2 separate regions of the Homo sapiens genome follow, and region 2 is linked to region 1. Evidence: promoter capture Hi-C in human tissues and cell types (Jung and others, 2019). All regions are on one chromosome and are shown on one strand. The core of a region is centred on a gene start or on the middle of the fragment in contact, and the rest is flanking DNA. Distances in the headings are between cores, read along the strand shown. Region 1 holds the start of FXYD4 (FXYD domain containing ion transport regulator 4). Region 2 holds the start of LINC02623 (long intergenic non-protein coding RNA 2623).

What was found. Contacts are between HindIII fragments. The study calls those that stand out against the background at their distance.
Region 2: a contact is called between a fragment that was not itself captured here and the fragment with the promoter of FXYD4 in region 1, in 2 of the 25 tissues and cell types used here (H1 embryonic stem cells and dorsolateral prefrontal cortex).

Annotation. Positions count from the first base shown.
Region 1 is chr10:43,369,541-43,374,381 of GRCh38, forward strand. FXYD4 (FXYD domain containing ion transport regulator 4) reads left to right here and starts at 2,096. Exons shown (of 9, transcript NM_173160.3): 1 at 2,096-2,157; 2 at 3,187-3,232; 3 at 3,975-4,243. The coding sequence starts at 4,207. The HindIII fragment of the contact is 15,718 bases long and covers 1-4,841 here.
Region 2 is chr10:42,868,176-42,873,016 of GRCh38, forward strand. It overlaps LINC02623 (long intergenic non-protein coding RNA 2623), which reads left to right and starts at 3,346. Exons shown (of 2, transcript NR_134479.1): 1 at 3,346-3,507; 2 at 4,334-4,841. RefSeq lists enhancers at 2,690-3,191, 3,192-3,691. The HindIII fragment of the contact is 5,667 bases long and covers 1-4,770 here.

The DNA.
Region 1 (4,841 bases), core at 846-3,345:
TTAACCCCCACACTCCACCGAGACTTTAAAACTCTGACTTCCATTCTTCTCTTTTTTTCTTTTTTAAGATGGAGTCTCGCTCTGTCGCTGAGGCTGGAGTGCGGTGGCACGATCTCAGCTTACTGCAACCTCCGCCTCCCAGGTTCAAGCGATTCTCCTGCCTCAGTTTCCCAAGTAGCTGGGACTACAGGAGCGCGCCACCACGCCCGGCTAATTTTTGTATTTTTAGTAGAGACGGGGTTTCACCTTGTTGGCCAGGCTGGTCTTGAACTCCTGATCTCATGTTCTGCCCTCCTCAGCCTCCCAAAGTGCTGGGATCACAACCGTGAGCCACCGCCCCCAGCCATGACTTCCATTCTTTACCATCCTTACTTCCTGAGCAGGCCATCCTTAACCTTTACACTTAAATAAACTCCTTTAAACTAAAATCTAACCTGTTTGACTATTGTAGATTGACAGGCTAATGAGAGTATGAACCTCCAAAGACTTCTGTGAGGGCTAGGTGCAGTCATATATGCAATGAACTCAAGTAAACAGCTGGCTGAGGAAACACCGGGACGCCTCCTCTGTGCTAAGCCCCATGCAGCATGCACACAGACACAGGCCCACCTCAGCCTCCCAAAGTGCTGGGGTTACAGGCGTGAGCCGCCTTTCCCAACCAATATTTTATATTTTTACACAAGTGACAGCATCCTATTCAGACTGCCCTATACTTTTTTTCCACTTAAAAGTATGTCTGGGCCAGACATAGTGTCTCACACCTGTAATCCCAGCATTTTGGGAGGCCGAGGCAGTGGATCGCCTGAGGTCAGGAGCTCGAGACCAGCCTGCTCAACATAGCGAAATCCCATCTCTACTAAAAATACAAAAATTAGCTGGGCACAGTGGTGTGTGCCGGTAATCCCAGCTACTCGGGAGGCTGAGACAGAATTGCTTGAACCTGGGAGGTGGAGGTTGTGGTGTGCCAAGATCGAGCCACTGCACTCCAGCTTGGGCGACAGAGCGAAATTCCAGCTCAAAAATAAATATATAAATAAACAAACAAACCAACTAAACCATCATTGCCCTCCCCAGCCCTCCCAGCCCAGAGACCCCCATCCCTTGTCAGCCATCCCCCCTTACCTTCTGGACAGGGACAAGTGTCCCTCATTTGGAAAAGAATTAAGGAGGGGTAACAGCAGACTAGGGAGGCCTGGGGTCCTCCACACGCCTGTGTGGGGTGACTTTGGCCCCCAGCAACAAGGCAGGCCTGAGGTCTGCAGAGGGAGGCAGCCCACTCCTCAGCCGGGGGCGTCTATCCTCCTCCTGGCCCCATCCCTCACCTGTGGGGGAGGCTAAGTGGGTGTCAGGGCCCTGTCAGAGGGTGAGCCACCCCCGGGGGTGCCCATCGGCCACCAGCCTCCCTTCAGTAGACACCCAGCCCAAGTGACAGCAGTGGCATGGCACTGCTGAGCACAGGGAGCCTCAAGGTCAGTGCCTGGCTCCTGGTATCCTCCGTGGTCCCCAGGACACCCCCACACAGAGGTCCCAGAACCCCCAAAGCTGGCACAAGAGCCCAGGAACACCCTGCCCAGCACCCTCCAGGTCCCTCTTTTAGGATCTGGGTGAGCTAAAGAAGCCAAAAGAAAGGCTGGGCGCGGTGGCTCACGCTTGTAATCCTAGCACTTTGGGAGGCCGAGGTGGGCGGATTGCCTGAGCTCAGGAGTTGGAGACCAGCCTGGGCAACACATTGAAACCCCATCTCTACTAAAATACAAAAAAAATTAGCCAGGTGTGGTGGCGTGCACCTGTAGTCCCAGCTACTCGGGAGCCTGAGGCAGGGGAATTGCTTGAACCCAGGAGGCAGAGGTTGCAGTGAGCTGAGATTGCATCACTGCACTCCAGCCCGGGTGACAGAGTGAGACTCCATCTCAAAAAAAGAAAAAAAAAAAAAAAAAAAAAAAAAAAAGAAGCCAAAAGAGGGTCTTCGGCCCAGCCCGCCCCTCCCCAACAGCCCTGGGTGTGGCAGGGAGCCTGACCAGTTCCCTCCAGCCTGCGTCATGGAGCCCTGGGCGTGGCTGCAGGGTTTAAAGAGCCGACCCACGTGCCCAGCAGCCTCCTCAGATCCGTTCTCTGCGCTGCCAGCTCAGGTGAGCCCTCGCCAAGGTGACCTCGCAGGTGAGCAGGCGTCCACTTTGGGGCTGCTGGGTGAAGGGGGTGGGTGCCCAAGAATTCTGAGTAATGAGGAGCCTGTTGAGGGGTCTGAGGACAGATATGGCTGCAGCAGCCGCTTGAAGGCCTCCTGCTTTGCACCCACTATCATATGGATGGTGGGTTGGGGGTTGGAGGAAACAGAAGCCAGCCCTTGGCTAAAGAATATATGAGCTGGTGGGGTATACCTCTGGTCCCAACTGCTTGAGATACTCAGGTGAGGAGATCACCTGAGCCAAGAGAGTTCAAGGCTGCAGTGAGCCGAGATCACGCCACTGCTCTCCATCCTGGGTAACAGAGCAAGACCCTGTCTCAAAAAAAAAAAAAATAGTAATAATAATAATAATAAAATAAAAAATGTGACCTAGAGTTGAGACCCTCGTATTCCAGGAACTCCAGGTTGGTGAAGGTAGAGAGACCAGTGAAGGCTGGGGGAAGCCAGCTTTGGAGACTGCTCCTAGCCCAAGAACCGATGTTCAGAAGCAGTGCCTAACAGTCTCTCCCTCCAGTGCCTCCCTCCCACTGCAGAAGGACCATGTGTTTATTTATGGATGTATTTATTTATTTATTTTGAGATGGAGTCTCCCTCTGTTGCCCAGGCTGGAGTGCAGTGCCAGGATCTCGGCTCACTGCAACCTCCACCTTCCAGGTTTAAGTGATTCTCCTGCCTCAGCTTCCCAAGTAGCTGGGAATACAGGCGCCTGTCACCACACTCAGCTAATTTTTGTATTTTTAGTATAGATGGGGTTTTGCCATGTTGGCCAGGCTGATCTTGAACTCCTGACCTCAGGTGATCCACCCGCCTCAGCCTCCCAAAGTGCTGGGATTATAGGTGTGAGCCACTGCGCCCGGCCTATGGATGTATTTATTGTAACAGGTTTTTAGTGCTTACTGTGTGCTAGGCATAGTTCTTAGGCTTGACAAATAGTAGTTCACGTAATTCCATCGCTATAACCTTATGAGGTTGCTACTATTCTGATGATCCTCCTTTTACAGGACACTGGTGAAGGAGCAGTGAGGAACCTGCAGAGTCACACAGTTGGTAAGTTGCTAAGAAGGGACCCAGCCCAGACAGCTGGCCCTGGATCTGTGATCTCATCAGGAGGCCAGAGCTGGGTACAGCAGATGATGACAATGGCTTCAGTATTGAAAACTTGACCACACTAGGCTAACAATATGCAGAGGGCTGGGAGGGGGCCTGCGCTCAAAGACTCAGCCTCCCTAAGGACAAGTAAATGGGGTCCTGGCTACTTCCAACCTGAGGGGGAAATGTCATACCACAGGAGGTCTATACTCTGAGAGCAGAATCTGGGTCTGCTGGAGTAGGGTCCCCTGCCAGGGCTGGCAGGGGAGGTCCTGGCTGCTGCAGTCATCTCATCCCAGGACTCAGCACTCCCTCCCTCCTCCACACCCTTGCTTTTGTGGAGGCTCTCTGGGAATTCAGACTGAGGGTGCTGGACTCTGGCCACCCCAGGCCCAGACCTTTGGGAACAATAGCCTGGGGCCTGATAACAATGCCCTTTGTGTGGGGTTAGGAAGGCAGGCTCCAGACCCTGACTTAGAATAGCAGCCACCTGACCCTGGGCATCTGATTACACCTCTCTAAGCTCCATTTTTTTTTTTCTTCTCTGAAATAGAGACAATAATAGTATCTTCCTCATGGGGAGGAGTAGGGGGTGGGTTTGTCGCATGGATTTTAACAACGCCTTCTACAGCACTTACTCTGTGCAGGCACAGTTTTGAGCTCTTAGCTTGTGCTTACTCAATCCACACAACTCCCCCAGGCCACCACCATCTCTAGATGGGAAGACAGAAAGTAGTTACTTTCCCAAGATCTCCCCACAAGCAAGTGTATCCTTGGGGTTTGTACACCTACTTTCACCATGGGGCTCTGCCTGCCCCCGCCCCTGCCTCCTCTCGCTGACCAATTGAGCTGTGAGCCTGGAGCAGATCCGTGGGCTGCAGACCCCCGCCCCAGTGCCTCTCCCCCTGCAGCCCTGCCCCTCGAACTGTGACATGGAGAGAGTGACCCTGGCCCTTCTCCTACTGGCAGGTGAGTCCTCCCAGTCTCCTGGGACCCTCTTGCATTCACCCCACCCACAAAGGCAGCAAAAGCCAGACAACATCTCCTTTGGGAGTCTGGTGTTCAATCAGCATGCTTTATTTAAACTGCCAATTTAGAGAGAAACATGAAGGAAATGACAGTACAGGTAGGATGAGAATATTGCAAAAAGGTCCTAATAGCTCCAGAGGAATTGAACCATGGAAAACATTAACCACCTGTGGCTTGAAGACAAAAGCAGGGTGGCACAGCGGCTCAGGCCTGTAATCCCAGTGTTTTGGGAGGCCAAGGTGGGAGGATCACTTGAGCCTGGGAGGATCACTTGAGCCTGGGAGGTCGAGGTTGCAGTGAGCTAGGATTGCACCATTGCACTCCAGCCTGGGTGACAGAGAGAGGTTCCGACTCATAAAAAAGACAAGCATTCCCTGTTTCTTCAGGGGGCAGAGACATAACAAACCATCCCAGTCAGCATGCACACAGGAGCATCAGGAAGCCTGGGACAGCAGGGCTTGGGCGGGGCCACACCCTGAGGCTGTGTGGGGCTGGGGAGGGCGTGAGGAAGGGAACTGGTGGCTCCAGGGTCACCCCA
Region 2 (4,841 bases), core at 687-3,186, 500 kb before region 1:
TTGGGACAACTAGTTATTTCATTTAAAAAAACAGGTCAATGTCAGTCCTCATTCTATGCTTTAAAATAAGCTCCAGATGGACTCATGCTTTACATGTAAAGAAGAAAAGGCAAAAAGAAAATAAAGAAAAGGCTTGTAAGCAGGTAGTTAATTGGGGGCAATCCCAGGATGCAGGAGAGAGGGGATGGAGCCACAGCAGGTCTGGGGAAGGGAGAAAAGCCGGCCCCGAGACCAGGGCCCAAGGACCCATTCAGGCCAGCAGTGCCTTCTGTGCACTTCCGCAAGGTCACACGTTCTTCCAAAGTTGCCATCATGGAGAGGTAGGCTTCCACGTAGTCTTGACTCCACTCGATTTCAATCCTTGGGTGGCTTTTCCTGTGATCACACTCAGCCCTGATACAGCCATTGCTGGGGCCTCCCCTGGCTGGACGTTCCGCTTTTGGTCCACATTCTTTCCTCCTGCCCTGAGGCTGGCCATGGGCCTCCTGAAGGCTAGCTGGGAGGACCTCCCTTCCATGGCTGTGCTCTTGCTCTGCCCACGCTGTCGCCTCCATCTCTACCTCCCTTTCCATCCTCACCACCAGCGCTCGAGTCAGTGGGGAGCTTTTCACTCACCAAGCCCAGGCAGGTGCGTCACGTGAATTTCTCTTGAGCCTCCCACTAGAGGTAGTGGCACTGTTGTCACCCTATCTGCTGAGGATATGCTGGGGCTGGCAGGGGCTACCCAAGACCAAAGGTGTCGCTGTCTCCATCCTGTGCCCACCCAGCCCTGCCCCCTGGGATCCCTTCAAATCTTTTTTTTTTTTTTTTTTTTTGAGATGGAGTCCTGCTCTGTCTCCCAGCCTGGAGTGCAGTGGCGTGATCTCAGCTCACTGCAATCTCCGCCTCCCGGGTTCAAGCGATTCTCCTGCCTCAGCCTCACAAGTAGCTGGGACTACAGGCACCCACCACCACACCCGGCTAATTTTTTTTTTTTTTTTTTGTATTTTAGTAGAGACGGGGTTTCACTATGTTGGCCAGGCTGGTCTTGAACTCCTGACCTCATGATCCCCCTGCCACAGCCTCCCAAAGTGCTGGGATTACAGGCATGAGCCACCACACCTGGCCCCCTTCAAATCTTAACAGAGAAGCCACCAAAGTCTCCTTGGGTCCATCACATGGATGGACCTCCTGGGCCCTTCAGCCCCTGGGCTTCCCTTGAGGTCCTGGAGCTATGTGGGCTCCAGCTCTGGGAAGGTGGACCCCCACGTGTGTGTCCTGCCGTCACTGTCTCTAAGGAGTCTGGCTCACACTAAGTGAGCCATAAGGCCTTGTTCAAGGTCATCTGTCCCACTGATTTCAGACGCATGGTGGAGTCTGAAATCATCTGTCCCCCACAGTGCATTCAGAGCCCTGTCTGGACTAGGGCACACACACATGCATGCTCATATATGCATATGCACATACGCACACACATATGCATATGCACATACGCACACACATATGCATATGCACATACGCACACACATATGCATATGCACATACGCACACACATATGCATATGCACATATGCACACACATATGCATATGCACACACATGCAAGGCTGCAAGGCTCATGCACACACACACATGCACACACATGCACACACATGCACATGCACACACATGCACATGCATGCTCACATGTACAGGCACTCATGCACCTAGAGCCTTCTCATCCTTCACTTTGAGTCCCCCCTCCCCTTGCCCATCCTTGCCCATCCTTCAAGGGCTCAGTCAAAAGCCATCTTTTACAAATTGTCTCTGGTTGACTTTCTTTTTTTTCCCCTCTTAGAAGAAGCGATGCTGTCCTCAGTCATCGAGCATTCACTGGGCGCTTCATGTGTGCCAGGCCCCGACATGGGTCTTGGGCATGTTCCAGTTCTCATGTCCTCAGGGCTCCTTGGTGAGTCGAGGGTGAGGAGGACACGGAGGCACAGGAGGCCACGGGGCAGGTCTAGGTCCACTCAGCCTCCAGAGTTCAGCCCTCCCTGCTGAGTCGGGGTGAGCAGGACAGATGCCTGCTCCTGGAACTTGGTGGGTGAGGTGGACAGGCATGCAGGGAGGCGCCAGGCTCAGGGGCTGTGGAACAGAGAAAGGAAGCTTCCAGGACATCAAACAATTCCTGGAGTGCCAGGGCAAGAGGGGAATCTGGGTGGAGGAAAACGTGAACAGGGCAGAGGTTGGAGGTGGATGTGGCCCCCGAGCACGTTGGAGGCGACTGAGGTGCTTCTTGACTTTGGGCATCTTCGTTCATCCCTGCATTTGCACATTTGTTGAACACACCTACTGAGACACTTGTTTTCTTTCCATGGTCCATACATTAGGAACATAGAGTTAGCTTCCTGGGGAACTTTTTAAGAAGTATTCTTAGAGAAGAAACCAGGAGGCATCGTTGTGGGATGTTGGTCCAGGATCTTGGGTGTGTCCTTTGGTCTTTTGTGGGTCAGGTTAGCAGGAATTGTGTCCTGAGGTGTTGGGACTGCAAAGTACAGGTTCCCTCCTGCCCACACTGATGCCTTCAGGGAATGACCTGTCTGCTCTTCTAAGAAGAACACTTAACTCAGCCTTGGCTGACCTCAGCTACCTGTGCTTTCTTCAGCCAGGCTCTGTGTTTTGTGCTTTTACTCTCAAAACAACCCTATTATTATCCCTGTCCCACAGACGAGATGCTGAGCCCCTGAGAGGCTCAGTAGGTGCCTGAAGGTCTTCCAGCCAGGAGGTGGCAGAGCCAGGGCCGGCCTGGCCTGAGGACTCCGAAGCTCCCATGGGCACAGCTCCTTCATGCCAGCTCTGTGTTGGGATTTTCTGTGGTTGTCACAGCCATCTTCCTGGTCAGCTAAGTTACAGACAGGGTGAAACTAGGATGGCCGAGCTGGAACCAGAGCTCATTCCTGAGCAGGGCACCTGGGCCCTGCCTACGGTGCTGGGCAGGCTCCTGGTGTGGAGGTCAGGCTCAGATCCTGCAGTCCCTGTGGCCGTGGGGCTTTTCTAGGCACCCTCCTGACTGCTAACACCAGGAGGGCCTATGATATGGGACCGCTGCCCCATGACGTGTGCCAGGTTTCTGCACGTGACCACTGGGAAAGGCTGGCCCTGGGCTGGGTGGATCCGCACTGCCTGCTGGCCCCTGCACCCAGATGGTGCAGCCCACACCCCTCTGATGCCCACCCACGCCCGGCTCTGGGACTTCCCTCCTTCCGCTGTGTCTGACCCTGGTTGCCCTTGTTCTGCCACTGGCTTGTAGCAGCCCTTCCGGAAGCCATGTCCTCCAGGGAGATTTGATTATGTCCTGGTGGTGCGACCTCGCTAATGCAATCAGGAAGTTTTCTCAAGACTTCAGCTGCTTTGTTGGCAGCCAGGCCTGGCTCTCAGCAGCTCTGCAGGCTGGAAGGGCCCAAGAGACCCTTCACCCACCCGGTGTCTCCAGCAGCAGGGAGGGGTCCGGGGCACAGCCTATTGCTGCTCTGCTCTCCTCCCTTCTTGGGGTAAGCTCCTTTGCTCTGATTTTATTTGGAATCATCGAGAGCCTCTATCTGTCTAGAAAAAGCGCTTAGCAATGAGGAATCAGCACTGCAGAGAATACTCCAGAAAGCAGCCATTTTCCATCAAGATTAGGCTCTTAATTGAAAATTTTAAGAGGAGAGGAAATTAGGGGAGAATCCAGATATTCTCTCCATTATGGTAATCAGCTGTAATCAGAGCCTGAGAGCTGTACTCAATCCCGGGGGTTCTCCCAGGATTACCAGAGCTGCCACAGTCACCTTCACCGACCTGCACTGGAGTCAGTGGGAGGGGCTGGCGGGGTCAGGGGCACTCTGGCAAGTGGATCCAGGAGGGCTGGGCTGGATCCAGGGGGCTGAGTTCAGAGGGAACTCTGCTTAGCAAGTGTGAAACACAGGACTGGGCCTTCCAGGCAGAGGGAAGATTGAGAACTGCGGCTGAGCGAGTGCGTCCAGGGGCCCCAGTTTAGTTGAGGGTCTAAGTTTTCCCAGCAGGGCAAGGTTGAGGGTGAGGATGCTGCAGGCCAGTTTTCTATGGCCTCAGAGTGAGGACAAGAAGGGGGAGATGGGCCACAGGGATGAGGGTGCCTGCTCCCTGCAGCAGGGTGCACATCATGGCTGTGCAGAGGCAGCAGGCGGCAGGTATTAGGAAGAAGCCCTTCCCGTGTGTGTCCTAGGGGCTGGGCACAGGCTGGGCACAACCCTTTGCTCACGGTTGCAGAAGCCCATCCACATGGGGTCCTGCTGAACTGGCTTCGTGGGGCTGGGAAGGACTGGCCTGGCCTCTTTGCTCACTTCACCTTATGGGCAGTGTCCTGCAGGTTTCTGTGAGCAGAGCAGACAGAAAGGAGATGCCCAGTGACGCCAGCTGTCCCCCGCAGAGCTTCCTGGAGCCTGGGCTCTAGGCTGAGGGTCCTTGAACAGACGTCATCTCCCTGGCTTCAGCAGAATCACCCACAAACCCACCCTGTGCCCACCCTCCCATCACAGAGAGCAGCTGCTGGAGAACAAGGCATGAGACTTTGGAGACCTGGAGGAGCAGGAGACACAGGAGACAATGGCCAGGGTGGTCATGGTGGCACGGCTATGCCATCACTGATTTCTGCCCACCCGCCCCCTAAGTCTCACTTGCTGCTACTCTCAATTTCCTACTTAATGCTTCGGAGAGCACCAGTCCTGAGATGAGAGGCGGGATGTTCACTCTCTGGGAGTTGAGATGGAACCCAGGCAGTTAGAAAAAAGTGCCACAACCACGTGCCGGACCTACTACTTGCCAGGAGCTTCGTGAGTCATCCAATTCCTAAAACAATTGTGCTGCG